Regions from separate parts of the Homo sapiens genome. Here all the other regions are linked to region 2. The links are contacts of gene promoters, found by promoter capture Hi-C in blood cells and fetal thymus (Javierre and others, 2016). All regions are on one chromosome and are shown on one strand. Each heading gives the region's core, a stretch centred on a gene start or on the middle of the fragment in contact. The rest is flanking DNA. Distances are from core to core; before and after follow the strand shown.

Region 1 (2,700 bases), core at 109-2,608, 170 kb before region 2:
AGCAAGCCATCAATTCTGCAGCGGACACCAGCTGGGTGTCTTCTATTAATGACTGAATTCCAACATTATCTACCTGGAGATAGCATCAGATCCCACAGGTTGAGGGCTCCAGTCCTCAAGACCTCCCCCACCCTTCCGTGTCAATTGCAAACCTCAGGTTATTTTTTGCCCGTGCTCCCGACCAATCAGTTAACTGGGGTTCCCACAACGCCCTCCTGGGATTTAACTTGCTAGACCAGCTCACAGTCCTTGGGGAAAAACTTACTTATGTTTACCAGTTTATTATAAAGGATATTACAGGCTGGGTGCAGTGGCACACGCCTGTAATCCTAGCACTTTGGAAGGCCAAGATGGGAGGATCGCTTGAGGCCAGCAGTTCGAGACCGGCCTGGTCAACACAGCGAGAGTCCATCTCAATAAAAATAAGTAAATTAATTAGGTAAAGGATATTACAAAGATCCAGATGAAGACATGCACAGGGTTAGGTATGGAGAAGGGGTATAGAGCTTCCAAGCCCTCCCAGAGCAAACTGCCCTCCAGGAACCTCCATGTGTTCAACTATCCAGAAGCTTTCCAAACTCTGTCCTTCAGGGTTTTTATGAAGACTCATTACCTGGGCATGATTAACCTTCAGCCCCTCTTCCCTCCCCAGAGGTTGGAGGGTGGGTCTGAGTCCAAACCTCTAATCATGCCTTAGTCTTCCCAGTAACCAGCCCCCATTTTGAAGCTACCAGGAGCTACCGGCCACCAGTCGATCATTAGCATACAAAAACACATCACTTTGGAGATTCTAAGGATTTCAAGCCTTGTATGCCTAAGAATAGGGTAGAGGACAGACCAAATATATATTTTACAGTATCATAGTACCTACAATTTAAACCACAAATTCATTAGCCTTCTTTTCATGCATTACTGTATCTGAACCAAATAAATTTCTGGGTTTCTCTAAATCTCTAACATAAATATGTTATGTTTAGATTTCAATATAATCATGCCTAAAATTAGATTGGTCCAAAATTGAAGTGGAACACAGGTCAAATACCATCTTAACAAATTCCACCCATCAAAGATCTCCATATAAGAAGTGTCTCCAGGCTGCAAGCCAAAGGTCCGCTTACTTCTTGGAGTACTTCTCAGAAAGATGACATTTCAACACATCAAAACAGCACAGATACCCACCCCTCCCCTTCAAGTTACCTATAATGACATTTGTCCTACAGTTTTGTTTCAAGAGACATAAATACTTAACACATCACTAGCTTTCAAGGTGAGTTTTAAGGTTCATATTTGATTCCAAGTTTCTGTACTTTACTCTTTTTTTTTATTTTTTATTTGGAGACAGGGTCTCACTCTGTCTATTTACAGGCACCATCAGAGCACATTACAGCCTTGAACTCCTGGGCTCAAGTGATCCTGCCATCTCAGCCTCCTGAGCAGCTGAGACTACAGGCACATACTTTACTCTTAACACTGTGCAACGAGTGCTAGAATTTTATTCAATTCACGACTACCCTCTACCTTTACACCAAGAAAGAGCATCCATTGGGAAAAAGGAGCCACAATTTTCTCTTTGTCAAGCTGTTTTAAGATATATAACATGAATACTTAAATACTAAAGGGAGGTCAATCCAGAGACAAAATGAACATAAGAGACTACTGAGTTAAGATGGATGTTTATTGAGACAGGAAAGCAAATATATTAAAAGGTCCAGGCAAGAGTGTGACGCACTACATCATCATAGCTTCTGCGCAACATCTCATGTTATCTGCCTTTCCCGTAACACCAAAACAAGTGTGTACCAACAGAGTTCGCCACCTCTCACGAACCCCACCCCACAACTTTCCCTAAAAACCTCTATCACTTTAGTCCCCTCCCCTCTCATTTAGCACACATGGGCTAGCTACAACACCCAAATCATCACGGGCTTCATTATATTACTGCCCCATATATTAGCTGTTATTGCCATCTCCCTCAAGAGTATTAAGATCTTTGAAAGATAATCTCATACTATACTCACATTCATATTACATAGTTCATGATTTGTTTGATTTTCACGTTACTGTAAATTTGTAATGACTAGGTAGTTTGGAATGTAGGAAAGTAAATATCCATGAATAATTTTTTATTAATTAATTCGATGTTGAGAATAAGCTTTATTGATCTTAACTATTGAATTAAAGCAGCTTTTTATAGGTCAAATATAAAACTCAAATTAGACACTTTTAAATTAAAAGACTTTAAACAACCCAAATTATTTCAACAAGCTTAACATCCTCGATCTTGGCACCCAAGTCCAAAAGAATAATTCGAGGCTAACTAGAAACTGTCAAAGCTAGAGAGGTATCAGTTAGTGCAATGATAATTTTGGTATCATCTGACTATACCCATCCTAGTTTTCTCAGTTAACTTCCAACCACTACAAAATTCTCTTCCATATTAATGCAAACTAATCTGACTCCAACCTTGAAGATGTTTCAGAAACAATTTTAAAGTTCTTAAAGTTACAGGTGCAACTGGGAAAACCCAACTCAAGACAGTCTTATTTCTCAACTTAGTTTCTCATTTTACAAACTGTATTTTGTAGGCCGGGCACGGTGGCTCATGCCTGCAATCCCAGCACTTTGGGAGGCAGAGACAGGTGAATCACTTGAGGTCAGGAGTTCGAGACCAGCTTGGCTAACATGGTGAAACCCCGTCTC
Region 2 (2,700 bases), core at 89-2,588:
CTATAACAGTAAAGTCGCTGCCCTGGCTGGGGGAGGGCACCCACAGCCCCATCGCCTCTCTGCCCAGGCCTCCCAGCTCGCTCCTAGCCACTCCTAACCTTGAACCCTCTAGAAACCCAAGCCAGCAGGGGAAGCAGCTACAGAAACTTCACCTGCACAGGTCAATGTGGGTGAAGAAGGGCCGGAAGTGGTGTTCTGTCTAGTTCTGCAAAGCCCATATATGAAAAAAAAGAAGCTGGAGATACAGTTCCATGAAGAACACCTGTCTGTTGGGTGGATAGGTTGTGGAGGGGAAATTATGGGTGACTTTTTTCCTTCAAATATTTTTGTGCTTTCTAAGTTTCCACATTGAATAAATTCTTTTGAAAGAGAAACACACTTCATGTGTGGCACCGCCATACCCAGCCGCTCTCCACCACTGGAGTTTCTCTTTCACCTCTTCTCAGCTACCTCCCAGGTAGAAGCCTTGGTCCCAGTGTCCTGTGCCCAGGCAGGGTCGGAGTTGGGGGCCAGCGTGGGGGAAGGGTGGGGCTCTCGCCCTCTCCCCAGTTAGAGTCCTGATCCTGCAGGGGAGGGGCAGCTCCCTAAGCAAAGTGGCCGCTGGAGTTGGGTGCTTGCCTGACCCCACCGATCCGATCCGCACCCCTGGCCCCGCTTTCCCCAACTCACCCCCTGAAGCGCCGCCCACCATTCAATTCCCCTTGCCTCGAAGGTACTTAGGAAGTGCGCGAACTCACACACACACACACACACACACACACACACACACACAGAGTCGCACTGTCTCCTCCCCTCCCTAACCTGGGCCACCGCCCCCAAGAGCCCACGTACAAACTTCTCCAAACTCGCAGCGGTGACTGGAGGGGGTGGTGACGTCCCCCTAATGAAAATGCGAGCCCTCGCCCCACAACACACACACGTGTGGCGCCCCACCCCCTGGGCAACTGTAAACCTGGCCGCGGCTGGCCGCCCTGGGGCTTGGGGGCGGGTATCCAACCCCAGCCTCCCACCTCGAGGCAAGTGACAGGAACAACGAGCGGCCGGCGAGCGGGGGCGGCGCGGGGGAGTTGCCAAGTGTCGGAGCGGCGCCCCGGGCCCCCCGAGCGCCCAGCCATCCCGGGGCGAGCCTGGGCTGCGTTACCTTGCAGGTTCTGCACTCGGATGTCGCTAATCTGCCCGATGAGCTCCTCGCGTTGGAACCAGTCCCACTCGTGTGCAGCCATGAAGCGCGGGCGGGAGAGCCCGGGCCAGCGCGGCGCGGGCGGCGGGCGCGGAGAGCCTGGCTGGCGGGCGCGCGAGCGGCACGCACCCGGCGAGGGCGCCGCGGAGCTGGAGTCGCGGCGGGCGCGGGCGGGGCGCGGGCGCGGGCGGGGCGGGGCGGGGCGGGGAGGGGCGGGCGGCGCGGTCGGGGCCGCCCCCGCCGCGGGCTGGCGCGAGCGAGCGCGGGGCGGCGGGTGCGGGGCGGCGGGCTCGCTCTCACTCCCCCGTGCGGGGGCGGGGGCCCTGAGGAGCGAGGGGCGAGGGGCGAGGGGCGGGGCGGGGCGGGGCAGGGGCGGGAGGCTGGGTCAGGCCAGCTTGTGTTTTTTTTCTTTCCGGGGTGTTTGTAGGTTGGATTGTTTGGTTACAAACCGGCTGTGATGAGGCGCGGGTCCCGGCCCCCAGATTGTGATGTCTCAGGGGGCGGTGGGCCGGGTGACGCAACTGGGGGTGGGCCCGTGGGTCCCAGTACCTGGTCCAGGAGGCAGCGTCTCCCTCCCGTCCGGGATAAGACACCCCCTCCGCGGGTCCCCTGTCCACTCTGGAGAGGCAGCCCCCACTTGGAGGGACCAGGACCCGAGCCCTGCCCATCCCCGAATCCTGGGAGCCCTGCGTGGGGAGTGTCGAGGGCCTGGGTCGGGGGGCAAACTAGTGTGGAGGTAAAGTTGTGGGAGTCTCCAAAGTGCGGGGGGGCTGTGAAAGAAGGGCCTTCTTCGTTGGTTTAGATACTAGGAGCCTTTTCCGGTCCAGTAATGTGACTCCAGCTTCTAGGAAGGAACAAGAAGCAGGCCAACTCCTAGGAGCTGGGGTACGCTGTGGGGTCTCTGGCCACTGAGTCTCCAAGTGACCCTCTGTGGGGTCACTGGAAATTAGTGAAAATGCCAGGACAGAACTTCCTGTGGAGACTACTGAAAATGCCAGGACAGGCCTTCCGGTCCCCTCCCTCCCCACCTCCACTGTTGAACTCTAGAGAATTCCAGGATCTTATCCTGTTTGGTGCCCACCATGTGGTTTACACTCCTTAAAAGTGAGACCCTACAGTTACCGAATTTGCCCAAGGTTGAGGAATGACTTAGGAGCAGGAAGTCCCAGCCCCCTGCTCCCAGCTCAGTGCTTGGGCCCTTTCTGTGACAACTAAGGCCACAAAGAAAATGGCTTTAAATATTCAGTGTTCCAAGAGGGGGAAAAAAATGGACAGGGCTCACTGGGCATTTAAACACATGGGCCTGTGTGCATCGCTGCTCTGTTCACAGCAATGAATCCCGGAAACCCGGCTGCTCACTAATTACCCAGTAACTATGGAGGTCCCCCGAAGGACAGACCTGTGCCCTTGAGGCAGGGCCCTGAAGGAGGGTGAGTCTACCCTCCAGTCATCCATTGGGGCAGGGGCTATCGTGTGGCCCTTAAACAAGGAAAGGAGATTTCTAAAGTGGACTCCAGAAA
Region 3 (2,700 bases), core at 1-2,500, 190 kb before region 2:
GAGAAGTGCTCTTCACATAGTGCATGTATTTTCCTTAGGAAAGTGTCTGTAAACAATAAAAATTTCCTGTGCAGCTCCTCTTGCTCATGTTTGATGTATTTCTGTAGTTCTCTTACCATCATTCCAGCTACTTTATCTGCACACCAGGGTCCCAGAACTACCAATACGGCACGACAGTCTGATAGTATCTACAAAAAAAAGAAAAGAAAAAACCTAATGCCAAATAATAATAATGTAGCATTTTCATGTGGGGTTTAACTGGGATTTCAGTTGTTCTCAAATGGCTCCTTAAATGTAACCCAGCCTTAGGTTAAGTCCCTGAAGGTGGGGGGAGAGGCCATTAGCCTTTTCAAGCTCATTTCGTATGTATATGCCTAGAACCATCTCCTTTTTTCAATAAAATAATCAAACAGAAATTAAAAGATGCAATTGTATGAGGTTAATGAAGCTTATTTTTAGATCTGTAATTAGTTAAAACTATACCTGAGTCATTTACTTCCTGCCAAATTACATAAAATTTATGTAGCACAGTAATTTAACTTTAGGCATCAAGGAAGAGCAATACAGTTTTCCTTGAACTTTATGTACAATATTCTCCAGCATTATATGTTTTCCACTATACTGACTAGAAACTGTGGATGAATTTTGGTCGATCTACAGTCAGCACCTCTGGATGCCACGGTGAGACTGTTGTAAAAACACTGCACAGCTGTCTCTATCATCATTTCTTTTTTCTTTCTTTCTTTCTAAACAGTAGGAAAGGCCTTTATTGGTTGGAAGTGGAAAAGGAGCTAGGACAGCTGCACTGGGGCAGCCTCCACACACTCTGTCACAGTTCTCCAAAAGCCCCTGTTATCCGATTTCAATGAAAACACCACCACAAGGTCAGGGCTCCTCAACATTAACATCTCAGCTAAATTCAGACTCTGATCCTGGACCCTCCCAGAGTGCTGCATCTTACAACTCTAATTGAGAGCCGAAAGTCAATCCATGGCCAGGGTGTAACTGAGGAATTGAGGGAGAGGGAGAGAGGCAGAGAGGCAGAGAGGGAGAGAGGGAGAGGGAGAAGGTCGGGGGAGGGAGAGGGGAAAGGTGGGGGAAGGGGAGGAGGAGGGGAGAGGAAGAGAGGGAGAAGGGGAGAGGAGGAGGGGGAGGAGGGGGAGGAGGAGAGGAGGCAGAGATGGGGGGAGGAGGGAGGGGACAGGGAGGGGGAGGAGGGAGGGGAGAGGGAGGAGGAGGGGAGGAAGAGGGGGAGGGGAGGAAGACAGGGAGGGGAGGAGGGGGAGGGGAGGGGGAGGGAGGGGAGGTACAGAAAGAGGAGAGGAGAGAAAGAGAGAGAGAGAGGAAAAAAAGACAGGAAAGAAAAGAAAGAAAAGGAAAGAGGAAAGGAAAGGGAAGGGAAAAGGAAAGGAAGAAAGAATGCAAAGATTGAGAAAAATGTGGGCACTGCTGCTCGAGAAGAAAAAAATCATCAGGAGAGAAACTAAGACCCACATTTAATACAGTGTTAACATTCACAAATGGTTGCAAAGTTCTAGGGCAGTGGTTCTCGAGCTTTAATGAATCAGATTACTGGAGGGCTTATCGAAATTCAAAACTGAAGACTGCAAACAGTAAAATTCAGTCCTGAGGACCCCACCCAGATGCTGCTGATGATGATGTGGGGCCCACAATGGAAGGATCACTGTCCTAAGGGATCTCTTCTCAAAGCAGTACCACTGAGAGACAATAGGCTCATATCCAGTTACACACACTAGGAAACTGCGGAAGAATTTGTTTAATTCAAGGGTTTGAACAGGAACTAACTCTTCTGACCAAAAAGAAACAAAAATTGGACTCACTCCTTATACTTAAATAACCATGACATGAATCCTAGCTCAGCTCCTTAAATAGGGGAAGTCTACACTTAATATAAATGTGCACTGGATAACAATGAACTCAACCTAATATGGTATGTTCAATGAAAAATGTCTAAAAAGATTAAGACCTTAAACTAAAATGCAAAGAAAAGAGCCGCATTAAGCATATTTTCATTTCAATATTAAAAATTAACAAAGCTTTCAAAATATAATCACTATACCTACTTGGTATATGCTTACCTGTTTCGAAATTAAAGTAGAATCTCTTTCTTTTGAATGTACAGATATATTACAATCATTGATAAAATTAAGTGCTTCTTCTAATTCCATCAGCAGTCTTTCATAAAGCCCACTTCTGTCAGTAAATGGTCCACAATCCACCACAATCTCACATGGCTGAGAAGTATACCTTTAACATAAGAAACAAAAGGTATCAATACTGCAGTAGTGAGAATGCAATTTAAAAAAAGTTTTTCAAAAAGCAAAAAAAAAAAAAAGGGAATAGATACTAAAAAAAAAAAAAAATGCCAGAATGTTAGCAGTGGGGTGAGATTTTAGGTGTTTAATTATTATTTTTCTATATTACCATATTTCTCAACAGTAAATAATGTATTTTATAAACCAGTAAAGTGTTGTTTAAAAGATGTTTTCAAAAGGCAAGGGGAGAAGAGGGGAAAGAAAAGAATACAAATGAGCATCCACTGCATCCCCAAGCATGATGCTGGGAATTTACATACCTTCTAACTGAATCCACACACAGGGAGGATGACGAAGGAAATGAAGGTTCAAAGACATTACATGACTCTGTCTAAACAAAACTCAGGACTGCCTTCCTCTGAGG

The links. Contacts are between HindIII fragments. The CHiCAGO score rates a contact against its expected background, and 5 or more counts as called.
Region 1: a contact is called between a fragment that was not itself captured here and the fragment with the promoter of CLMN in region 2, in 5 of 17 cell types (monocytes, total B cells, naive B cells and 2 more). The highest score is 7.1, in monocytes.
Region 3: a contact is called between a fragment that was not itself captured here and the fragment with the promoter of CLMN in region 2, in 5 of 17 cell types (M0 macrophages, M1 macrophages, monocytes and 2 more). The highest score is 7.6, in M0 macrophages.

The regions. Positions count from the first base shown.
Region 1 is chr14:95,147,618-95,150,317 of GRCh38, forward strand. The region is part of intron 1 of DICER1 (dicer 1, ribonuclease III); the gene reads right to left. Among named protein-coding and RNA genes, the nearest start is that of DICER1, 8.6 kb to the right of the region's middle. The HindIII fragment of the contact is 1,583 bases long and covers 568-2,150 here.
Region 2 is chr14:95,318,570-95,321,269 of GRCh38, forward strand. CLMN (calmin) reads right to left here and starts at 1,339. Exons shown (of 13, transcript NM_024734.4): 1 at 1,142-1,339. The coding sequence starts at 1,223. RefSeq lists enhancers at 210-329, 350-429 and a silencer at 1,060-1,319. The HindIII fragment of the contact is 9,635 bases long and covers 1-2,700 here.
Region 3 is chr14:95,124,481-95,127,180 of GRCh38, forward strand. It overlaps DICER1 (dicer 1, ribonuclease III), which reads right to left. Exons shown (of 27, transcript NM_177438.3): 7 at 2,100-2,268; 8 at 1-188. Among named protein-coding and RNA genes, the nearest start is that of MIR3173, 12 kb to the right of the region's middle. The HindIII fragment of the contact is 1,609 bases long and covers 447-2,055 here.